Linked DNA regions of Homo sapiens: region 1 is linked to region 2. Evidence: promoter capture Hi-C in human tissues and cell types (Jung and others, 2019). All regions are on one chromosome and are shown on one strand. The core of a region is centred on a gene start or on the middle of the fragment in contact, and the rest is flanking DNA. Distances in the headings are between cores, read along the strand shown. Region 1 overlaps LOC124902480 (a long non-coding RNA gene). Region 2 holds the start of PCGF5 (polycomb group ring finger 5).

What was found. Contacts are between HindIII fragments. The study calls those that stand out against the background at their distance.
Region 1: a fragment that was not itself captured here is called in contact with the fragment with the promoter of PCGF5 in region 2 in 1 of the 25 tissues and cell types used here (hippocampus).

Annotation. Positions count from the first base shown.
Region 1 is chr10:91,178,322-91,184,522 of GRCh38, reverse strand. LOC124902480 (a long non-coding RNA gene) reads left to right here. Exons shown (of 3, transcript XR_007062240.1): 3 at 1-5,255. It also overlaps a transcript of PCGF5 not described here. Among named protein-coding and RNA genes, the nearest start is that of PCGF5, 39 kb to the left of the region's middle. The HindIII fragment of the contact is 5,314 bases long and covers 1-4,375 here.
Region 2 is chr10:91,218,792-91,224,617 of GRCh38, reverse strand. PCGF5 (polycomb group ring finger 5) reads right to left here and starts at 3,955. Exons shown (of 10, transcript NM_032373.5): 1 at 3,782-3,955; 2 at 1,635-1,929. The coding sequence starts at 1,746. RefSeq lists silencers at 3,332-3,626, 3,316-3,775, 3,846-4,155 and an enhancer at 4,346-4,415. The HindIII fragment of the contact is 13,387 bases long and covers 1-5,826 here.

The DNA of each region.
Region 1 (6,201 bases), core at 469-2,968, 38 kb after region 2:
AAACTTTCTGAGCTAAAGGAGTACATTATAACCCAAGCAAGGAAGCTAAAAATCACGCTAAAACATTGCAGGAGCTGACAGACAAAACAGCCAGTAGAGAGTACTGTAACCAACCTGACAGAGACAAAAAACACACTACAAGGATTTCATAACGGAATAAAAAGTATTAATATCAGAATAGACCACGTAGAGGAATCTCAGAGCTTAAAGACTGTGTTTCTGAAATAAGACAGGCAGAGAAGAATAGAGAAAAAAAGAATGAAAAGAAATGAACAAAACCTCCAAGAAATATGGGATTATGTAGAGACTGAATCTACCACTGACTGGTATACCTGAAAGAGATGAGGAGAATGGAACCAATTTGGAAAACATATTTTAGGATATCATCCATGAGAATGTACCCAACCTAGCTAGACAGGCCAACCTTCAAATTCAGGAAATGCAGAGAACCCCAGTAAGATACTCCATGAGAAGAACATCCCCAAGACACATAATCATCAGATTATCCAAGGTCGAAACGAAGAAAAAATATTAAAGACAGTGAGAAAGAAAGGCCAGGTCACTTTCAAAGGGAAGACAATCAGACTAATAATGGACCTCTCAGCAGAAACCCTACAAGCCAGAAGAGATTGGGGGCCAATATTCAACATTCTTAAAGAAAAGAAATTCCAACCCAGAATTTCATATCCAGCCAAACTAAGCTTCAAGCAAAGGAGAAATAGATTCTTTCAGACAAGCAAATGCTAAGGGAATTCATTACCACCAGACCTGCCTTACAAGACTCCTGAAGGACACACTACATATGGCAAAGAAGGACTATTACCAGCCACTACAGAAACACACTGAAGTACACAGACCAGTGACACTATACGGGAACTACATAAACATGTCTGCAAAATAATCAGCTAACATCATGATGACAGGATCAGATCCTCACATATCAATACTAACCTTAAATGCAAATGGGCTAAATGCCCCAATTAAAAGACACAGAATGGCAAGCTGGAGAAAGAGTCAAAATTCATCGATGTGCTATATTCAAGAGACCTACCTCACATGGAGAGACACACATAGACTCAAAATAAAAGGATGGAGGAAAAAAAAAAAGCAGAGGTTGCAATCTCAATTTCTGCCAAAACAGACTTTAAAACAACAAAGATTAAAAAAGACAAAGGGCATTACATAATGGTAAAGGGTTCAATTCAACAAGATCTAACTATTCTAAATATATATATACCCAACACAGGAACACCCAGATTCATAAAGCAAGTTCTTAGAGACCCTAATAGAAACTTAAGACTCCCACACAATAATAGTGGGAGACTTTAACACCCCACTGACAATATTAGATCATTGAGACAGAAAATTAACAAAGATACTCAGGACCTGAACTCAGCACTGGATCAAATATATACACAACACTGGATCACAGAATATACATTCTTCTCATTGCCACAAAACATGTACTCTTAAAATTGATCATATAATCGGAAGTAAAACACTCTTCAGCAAAAGCAAAAGAACTGAAATAGTAACAAACAGTCTCTTGGACCACAGCACAATCAAATTAGAACTCAAGACTAAGAAATTCACTCAAAACCATACAATTGCATGGAAATTGAATAACCTGCTCCTGAATTACTTTGGAGTAAATAATGAAATTAAGTCAGAAATCAAGAAGTTACTTGAAACTAATGACAGCAAAGATACAATGTACCAGAATCTCAAATAATGAAATTAAGGCAGAAATCAAGTTCTTTGAAACTAATGAAAGCAAAGATACAATGTAACAGAGTCTCCAGGACACTGCTAAGGCAGTGTTAAGAGGGAAATTTATAGCACTAAATGCCCATATCAAAAAGTTAGAAAGATCTCAGGTTAACAACTTAACATCACAACTAAAAGAACTGGAGAACCAAGAGGGAACAAATCCCAAAGCTAGAAGACAAGAAATAACAAAAATCAGAGCTGAACTAAAGGAGATCGTGACATGAAAAACCATTGAAAAGATCAATGAATCCAGGAGCTTGCTTTTGAAAAAAATAATAAAATATATAGACAACTAGCTAAACTAATAAAGAAGATTCAAACAAACACAATCAGAAATGATAAGGAGGGCACTACCACTGACCTCACAGAAATACAAACAACCATCAGAGAATATTATAAACACCTCTATGCTTATAAACTAAAAAATCTAGAAGAAATTGATAAATTCCTGGACCCATACACCCTCCGAAGACTGAACCAGGAAGAAACTGAATCCCTGAACAAACCAATAACGAGTTCTGAAATTGTACAAAGAAGAGCTGCGACCATTCCTACGGGAACTATTCCAAAAAATTGAAAAGGTCAAACAAACACAATCAGAAATGATAAGGGGGACATTACCGCTGACCTCACAGAAATACAAACAACCATCAGCGAATATTATAAACACCTTTATGCTTATAAACTAGAAAATCTAGAAAAAATTGATAAATTTCTGGACACATACACCCTCCAAAGACTGAACTAGGAAGAAACTGAATTCCTGAACAGACCAATAATGAGTTCTGAAATTGTACAAAGAAGAGCTGCTACCATTCCTACTGGAAATATTCCAAAAAACTGAAAAGGAGAGACTCCTCCCTAATTCATTCTATGAGGCCAGCATCATTCTGCTACCAAAACCCAGCAGAAATACAACAGAAAAGGAATTCAGGCCAGTATCCCTGATGAACATTGATGCAAAAATCCTCAACAAAATATTGGCAAACCAAATCCAGCAGCACATCAGAAAGCTTATCTGCCACCATCAAGTGGTCTTCATCCCCGGGATGCAAGGTTGGTTCAACATACACAAATCAGTAAGTGTAATTTATCACATAAACAGAACTAAACACAAACTAAAGACAAAAACCACAATTAACTCAATAGATGCAGAAAAGGCTTTCAATAAAATTCAACATCCATTCATGTTTAAAACTCTCCATAAACTAGGTATTGAAGGAACATACCTCAAAATAATAATAAAAGTGATATATGACAAACCCACAGCCAACATCATACTGAATGAGCAAAAGATGGAAGCATTCCCCTTGAAAACTGGCACAAGACAAGGATGCCCTGTCTGGCTACTCCTATTCAACATAGTATTCAAAGTTCCGGCCAGGGCAATTAGACAACCGAAAGAAATAAAGTGCATTCAAATAGGAAAAGAGGAAGTCAAACTATCCCTGTTTTTAGATGACAGGATCCTATATCTAGAAAACCCCATTGTTTCAGCCCCAAAGCTTCTCAAGCTGACAAATAACTTCAGCAAACCTCAGAATACAAAATCAATATGCAAAAATCACTAGCCTAAAATCAAATTCCTATATACCAACAAGGGTCAGGCCAAGAGCCAAATCACAAATGAACTCCCATGCACAATTGCCATAAAAATAATAAAATAGCTAAAAATACAGCTAACTAGGGAGGTGAAAGATCTCTACAAGGAGAACAACAAACCACTGCTTAAAAAAATCAGAGATGACACAAATTGAAAAACATTCCATGCTCATAGATAGGAAGAATCAATATTGTGAAAATGGCCATACTGCCCAAAGCAATTTATAGATTCAATGCTATTTCTATTAAACTACCATTGACATTCTTCACAGAACTAGAAGAAACTATTTTAAAATTCACATGGAACCAAAAAAGAGCCTGAATAGCCAAGGCAATCCTAAGCAAAAAGAACAAAGCTGGAGGCATCATGCTACCCAACTTCAAACTATACTACAGGGCTACAGTAACCAAAACAGCATGGTACTGGTATAAGAACAGACACATAGACCAATGGAACATAATAGAGAACCCAGAAATAAGACCACACACCTACAACTATCCAATCTTTGACAAATCTGACAAAAATAAGCAATGGGGAAAGGATTCCCTATTCATAAATAGCATAAATAAATGGTGCTGTGATAACTGGCTAACCATATGCAGAAGATTGAAACTGGACCCCTTCCTTACACAATATACAAAAATTAACTCAAGATGGGTTAAAGGCTTAAATGTAAAACAAAAAAATATAAAAACCCTGGAAGACAACCTATCATTCAGGGCATAGGCATGGGCAAAGATTTCATAATGAAGACACCAAAATAACTGCAACAAAAGCAAAAGTTGACAAGTGGGATCTAATTAAACTAAAGAGCTTCTGTACAGCAAAAGAAACTACCAGCAGAATAAACAGACAACCTACAGAATGGGAGAAAATTTTTGCAACCTATGCATCTGACAAATGTCTAATATCCAGCATCTATAAGGAACTTAAATTTACAAGAAAAGAAACAAACCACTCCATTAAAAAGTGGGCAAAGAACATGAACAGACAAATTTCAAAAGAAGACATACATGCCGCCAATAATGTAATGAAAAAAAGCTCAACATCACTGATCATTAGAGAAATGTAAATCAAAACCACAATGAGATACCATCTCACACCAGTCAGAATGGCTATTATTAAAAAGTAAAAAAAAATAGGTGCTGGTGAGTTTGTGGAAAAAAAGAAATGTTATATATTATTGGTAGGGGTGTAAATTAGTTCAGCCACCATGGAAAACAGTATGGCGATTCCTCAAATACCTAAAGATAGAAATACCATTCGACCCAGCAATCCCATTACTGGGTATATACCCAAAGGAATATAAATAATTCTACAAAAAAGACACATGCATGCATATGTTTATCACAGCACTATTCACAGTAGCAAAGACATGGAATCAAACTAAATGCCCATCAATGACAGACTGGATAAACAAAAAGTGGTACATACACACCATGGAATACTATGCAGCCATAAGAAAGAACAAGATCATGTCCTTTGTGGGGACATGGTTGGAGCTGGAGGCCATTATCCTTAGCAAACTAACACAGGAACAGAATACCAAACGCCACATGTTGTCACTTTTAAGTGGGAGCTAAATGATGAGAACATATGGACACACAGAGGGAAACAACACACACTGGGTCCTTTTGGAGGGTGGAGGGTAGAAGTAGAGAGAGGATCAGGAGAAACAACTAATGGGTACTAGGCTTAATTCCTGGATGGTGAAATAATCTGTACAACAAACCCCACGACACAAGTTTACTGATGTAACAAACTTGCACTTGTACCCCTAAAGTTAAAATAAATTTTTAAAAGATTAATTTTTTTTTAAAAAAGAAACAAATATTGGCTCCCTGACAGCCACTCTGATTATTCATGGGTAATCTAACTCACCTCTCCCATGTCTCTCCCTTGCTTTCCTCCTATTCCTCTGACTTAAAAGAGACCACACTAGTTCAGATCTGAGGATAGAGAGTACATGACTTGAAACCAAAGTAATGAGAGAGGACAGGATGGGAATAATACAAAAGATGTTTAGGAAGCAAGCAAAGATGTTTAATCTACCTGGGCTAGAGGAATTAGCCCTAGCTCCTTATCAGAAGCAGCTAGCAAGCTTTTAAAAATTACTAATTCCCTAGGGCTTACCCAAAGTCAAGTAAGTCAGAATCTTGAGATAGGAGAGTCATTTGAATTTTCTAAAAGCTCCCCCAAAAGATGTTGAGATAGAGTGAGTGCTGAAATCAGTTGTAGAGGATGAATCTAACTTCCAAATAATAATGCTTCATGTATTACGTTGGTGCAAAAGTAATTGCAGTTTTTGCCATTGAAAGGAATGGCTCTGGACACAAGTAAATCATTTTCCAAACTACTCATCATCATTACATTTTTTTTTTTACTATTTTTAATCAAAGTAACCCATGAAAATTATGTTTAAACTCAAAGTGTACTACTACGTTTAAAATGAGAAACAGCAGGCCAGGTGCAGGGGCTCACACCTGTAATCCCAGCACTTTGGGAGGCCGAGGTGGGAGGACTGGCTGGCCCAGGGGTTTGAGACCAGCCTGGACAACATGGTGAAACCCTGTCTCTACAAAAATTTTAAAAATTAGCCGGGTGTGGTGAATTGCACTTGTGGTTCCAGCTACTTTGGAGGCTGTGATGGGGGTATTGCTTGAGCCTGGGAAGTCAAGGCTGCTGTGAGCTATAATCACACCACTGCACTCCAGCCTGGGCAACAGAGCAAGACCCTATCTCAAAAAAAAAAAAGAAAAGAAAAGAAAAGAAAGAGAAACAGCAATACCCTGCCTCACCTCTCCAGTCACTCCCAAAGGCAAACTACT
Region 2 (5,826 bases), core at 2,706-5,205:
TTCTGTTCAAATGTCATCATATCAAAGAGGCTGACCCACTATAAATTACCTCCATGTCTCCTATCTACAATTGTGCTTTGTTCTTTTTCATACTACTTATCACTAATATGGCATTTTTAAAATTAGTTTTCCTACTAGAATTATACTTCTTGAGCAGAGACTTCTTTATTATCTTGTGCCCTTCTTTATTATCTCATGCCCCAGCACAGTGCCTGACACACAAAGTACTCAATAAATGTCTGTTCGATGATAGTTAATTAACTGTTCAAGTTAAATAACAATACAGGGCAACAGCAAACTAGTAATACAAGATAGTACATAGTTAATTGCTAATTGAATAAGATGTGCCAGTAATACCCCAAAGGAGTATACATCAGCATCACTTGGGGAGCTCTTCCAAAATATGCATGCCCAGGCCTTACCACAAGACCCACTTTATCTCCCCAGGCAGGGTCCTGAGCATGCGTATGCTTAAATAGCTTCCCAGATGATTCTATTTTTTATTGTGGTAAAATAAATGTAACATAAATGTAACATAAAATTTGCCATTTCAACCATTTCCAGATTATTCCATCTAGCATTCATTTAAAACTACTGGTATAACATTAAGTCAGTTCAGCAGAGCAAGAATAGCTGAAAAACGAGGCTTACTAACAAAAATAAAAATTAAAAAAAAAGTACCATGGTATATTAAAGAGCATGGGTTTTGGAGTTGAATATAGGTCCACCACTCATTAGCTATGAGACTAGACAAGTTACTTATCCATTAGTTTCCACATCCATAAAATGAAGATAAATCTCTATACCTTCTCTCTCCCCCTACATCTACTCCAAAATGCTCCCAGGTCATTGTAAAGCTAAGATGAAATCACATATATCTCATTTTGGTGCACATACTAGGCATTAAACTATAACTTACTGGAATTACTTTCACTGAAATAAAAAATGAAATCATGCTGGCAGAAACACAAAGAGTATGTGTAATCTTGGCATAAGTGGCAGTAAAAAATGCCTCTTCCTCTTCCAATGGGACAGTTGAGAATGAAATCTGCTAGGAGCTCCACAGGTATACTACTACTAGAACAGTGATTCTCAAACTTAAGCATGCTTCAGAATCACCTGGAGGGCTTGTTAAAACAGATTGCTGGGCCCACTCTCAGAGTCTCCGGCTCATTAAATCTAGGGTAGGGCCTGATAATCTGCATTTCTAACAAGTTCCTAGAACTTGCAATGACACTGGTGCTGCTAGTCTAGGAATCACACTTTGAGAACCAGCGAATTAAGAGTCTGCATATCCTAAAAGAATCTCTGAGATTAATTCCTTGAGTATAAATTTTTAAAATAAAAAAACCTGAAATAGTTCACTTAAAAAAACCATAACTGATAATATGCTTATGATTTTTAGAATATTTTACAATGTGATAAGAGTCAACTACTGAGATTCAAATAAAAGCAAAATTTCATGCCACTGGCAACCCAATGACAAATATTCTGAAAATTCAAAGTTAAAATAATTATTAGAATACTCATTTCTTAAAAGTTACAACATAGATAAAAACAAAACATGGCAATTTTAAAAGAACAAAATGTACATATAAACTTTGATAGGTATAATAACCTAAAAGAATACTTACATGTATGGAGGCATTCCGTCACTGTTGTTGGCTTGATCAGATACCCTTTACAGATATAGCAGGTAATGTAAGGATTAAAATCTTTCACCAAGTGTTTCCTTTGGGTAGCCATTCGTGGCTAGTGAAGACTGGCTTTAGTAGTCTGGGCAAAGAGGGGTCCTAAGTAGATGAAAGTCTGATCCCAGGAGCTGGTGTGTCGTTCCCAGTAGGATGTCCTGAGGCATGAGAACTAGCATCCAGATTTATCATGAGATCGTTGATCATCACTCCTTTTGGTGGTTCCGCTTTCCCATGTCTGTTTCCAAAATCATTTCAAAAAGATGAGAGAAAAAAGCGTCAAATTCCTCATAATGTATTAATGTCATTCTATTAACAGCAAGTGTTACATGTTCCCAATTGGGTGAATAGGTGAATAGAACATATCCTTCATTGTATCATTAACTTGCAAATCTGCTATAATTCAGAATAATGACAAATTCATCCAGTCCTGGAACCTCAACTACCACCTCTATACTAATGACACCCAAAGCTATTAACTACAGTTTGATATCTTTACCTCTTCACTAATGCATTTTAACTATCTGCTTGACTGCTCTATTAGGAGTCCCTGCCAATACAAGTTAAAAGATTAAAAACTTAAGTAATTATCCTCCCTATCAAAATGTTCCCCATTTCCATTTTTAACCCTTCATCCAGTTACGAGTCAAACCAAGTTGATATCCTCTGCTATTCCATGCCCGGCTGCTCTACTTGTATATCACCTCTCCACCTGCAGTCCATCTTATATTCTGCTACGAGGCACATTTTATTTTGTGACACTTGGTTGGGTCTTCTTATCAACGAATGTCAGTGTCTTCTCTTTACAAACAGAAAAATGTTTCCCATTCTGTCACATAAGACCTTCTACAGGTTAACCTTAATATACCCTTCAACAACTTTCTTCAACCTGAAGGGATCACTCCTCTCCCACCGTCTCCTCTGCAGGTTCTAAGCACTCTATCCAACACGCCCTTTCTCTCCTCTGTCTGCATGCCACCTATCCTTCAAGCCCTTCTCCAATGCTATTCTCAGTGCAATCTTTCCCTAGTTTTTAATGCTTACTTCTTTCCTATTACATTTGCCTTTTATTTTGATTTATAGTTACGTTCATTCTTTACCTTCTTTGTTAGACCAAAAACTCTTCAATAGAAACTGGTCATATTTAGTAGATATATAACCTGGATAATGCTACTTTCCTGTCTCAGGTTTTTTTTTTTTTTTAACTGTAAAATATGTATCCTCTCAGAAAACACAACATGAAAGGTGTTGATTTTCCTAAGTGCATTCTATAAACAGGAACTTTCCCCCATCTTAGCTGTTAACTCATTGGTAAATATAAAGCAACCGGAAAGGTAAAAGGCATTCCATCAACACATACCCACTGCGAATGTGCAGGGAATAGGCTCTACGTGTAATCATCCTATCCTCTTGGGAAACCGTATTCGTGCGTGTAACAGAAAGCAAGCATAATTAAAAGACAGGGAATCAGGGTTCTGGCCCTTACCCCTGTATGACCTTCAGCAAACCGTTTCATATCTGAGCCTGGGTCTCGGCTTCCTCCTCTATAAGTTGGGATTAACTGCCTTGCCTTTCCCACAGGTTTGCCATGAAACTCCAAAGTAAGAGAAAGTCCTCTGGAAGAGGAAATGCACGGTCCCGACCTGGGGTGGTACTAAGATCCTAAGGCACAGAGCCCTGTGACCAAGACAGTTAAGGGAAGCAAGAACTTGCAATGACGGGGCGGGGGCAAGGGGGAACTTTTCTGCGTTCTCCGGCAGGACCCAGCGGTACAGCCCTGTGGGGTCCCAGCACAGCCGCGCCCGCCCGGCAGGTGCGCGGGCCCAGGCCCCGCGGGCGCGCTGCTCAGGCCGGGGAGAGCGAGCAGCCTTTCCCGGGGCCGGCGTCCGCAGCCGGCCGCTCTCCCCGCCGAGGTAGGCACAGCTCCGAAGCCCCCGCCCGGGTCGGTAGCCCCCTGCACCCGAAGGGCCCTCCCGGCTCCAGGCTGGGCCGGCCAGGGCAGGTGTCTGGAGGTGTCGCTCTCGCCTGAGGCGCAAACTTGGGTGAGGAGTCTGGCGTCCCTGCAGCTCCCCAGCCCGCCCGGTACCTACCCAGCGGCCGCCACCGCCGCCGCTCCTCGCCCGCCAGCGCGCCGGCCTCAGAGTGAAGGAAAGTGAAACAGAAACAGCACCCGCCGCGGCCTGGCCGGTCCCCGCGCCCCGTCTGCTCTCCCCCTGCAGGCGGGAGCGCGCCGGCTCTGTGGGGCCACTCGGCTCAGGCCCGACAGGGCGCGGCGGGCCTCGGGGCCCAGGTCCGGTGCCGCCTCCAAGGGCAACTCCACCCACTTCCAACCGGCGGCACCGCCCGCCCCGCCGCCCGGCCACGCCCCCGCCGCCCGGCCACGCCCACCACCACGCCCGGAGGCCGCGCCTGCCGCCTGCGCTGCTCGCAGGTGCAGCTGCCGCCCTGGCTCCCTGTGCTACACGTAGCTCTGGCCAAATATTATCTCGGTTCTTCTTATCCTCACCGTCCACCCCTTCGGTTGTTTACATCATAACAATGACTGGCATATTTTCCCTGGAGGGTTTAAAAGCAACGGTCAGTGATGAGACTGACGCACCCTGAGAATTTGTCTCTTCAGCTGCGTCTTCCCCAAGTCTGTCCCACCTGCGCCGAAGTGGGGACAAAGCCATCCCTTGATTTGCACCTTATCTGAAAATGACTGACAAACTTGTTACTGTAGTGTGGGTCCAGAGATCATGGTCGTTGACAACTATAAGCAAACGGGAACGTTGTGGAGGTTGAGGGTGGGGGGAGGGTGAGTGGTAAAGAAGCATTACTGTTTGCAACGTTCAAAACAAACAAAAACCCAGTACTCTTTCTAGTGGACTTTGAGATCTACAAGAGACCATTCACTGCAAAAACCTTCATTCAAAAATGTGTATTCTAGAAGCCAGAGCAGTGATGGCTTAAGAAAATGACAATAATAGAGGGTAGGGGAGACTGTCAATGCAAAATATTTGCTTTTTCTCCAACTGATAGGCGTTAACTTCTTACTAAAGTGATAGATGACTCTAAGTGGCAAACCAACAAACTTAACAACCGCTAGTCCAGCAGCCATACAAGTGTTCAAAGATCCATTTCAAATTTAAAATGCATCAAGCAGTAGACCAAGGCAGCTTTTTAAACTATCCATTTTATAATCAAACTTTGACATGTTTAAAAATTGCCATTTCTAATATCACAGCAGGAGCAATACATTTTCTGAAACAGCTTTAAATGACCACATTCGTATAGTCCTTTAAAGAACCATTTTCCAAAATCATACATGCCAATGTCCAAGCTGGGATCAACTTCATAAGTCGCAGCAATCACAATGAGTAAGAGAAAACAAGTGAGGTCAAATGACTTCATGGCAGTAGGATTACTCTTTATGCTTCATATCTTTCATTTCAGAGACTAAACAGAACAGTATGTGAAAAATCACACTACTTCTAGTGTGTTTAAAATATGCATTGGAGGATATTACTGTATATATACCACAATATATAAAAAAGACTTGGTATGTTCCTATTTTGTGTCTGAAACTATTTTAAATATGTTTTAAAAGAATAACAGTGGAGTCCAGGGGGCTTAAATGTGATTGGTGACCTATCACAAGTGCGGTTAATCAGTATTCCTGAAGGAAACGAGCTTGAAGGCGGGTTTTAGGATGACATATGTTAGCAATGAAGGAAGGGGTCACAAACATGTGATACAGCAGTACCTGAGGATGAATGTGGAGGTGGGGTTGCCAGAATGGACTTGGGATGAGGGAGAACTACAACTTTTATAAGGCAATCTGTGCTTTGTGTCTGGAGAGGCAGCAATAGTTTGCAGTTAAGTGTTCTGTGGTTTCGCCTCTGCCTTCTTCAGCAACCATTCCATCTCTCCCACCCCAATTTAAAAAAATGCACACATACACAAAATAAAAACAAGTTTAAAAACTCAAACATTTGTCTGGTTAAAAAAATAATAATAGGCCTGGCACGGTGGCTCATGCCTGTAATCCTAGCACTTCTGGAGGCCGAGGTGGGCGGATCATGAGGTCAGGAGTTTGAGACCAGCCTGGCCAATATGGCGAAACCCCATCTCTACTAAAACAAAAATCAGCCGG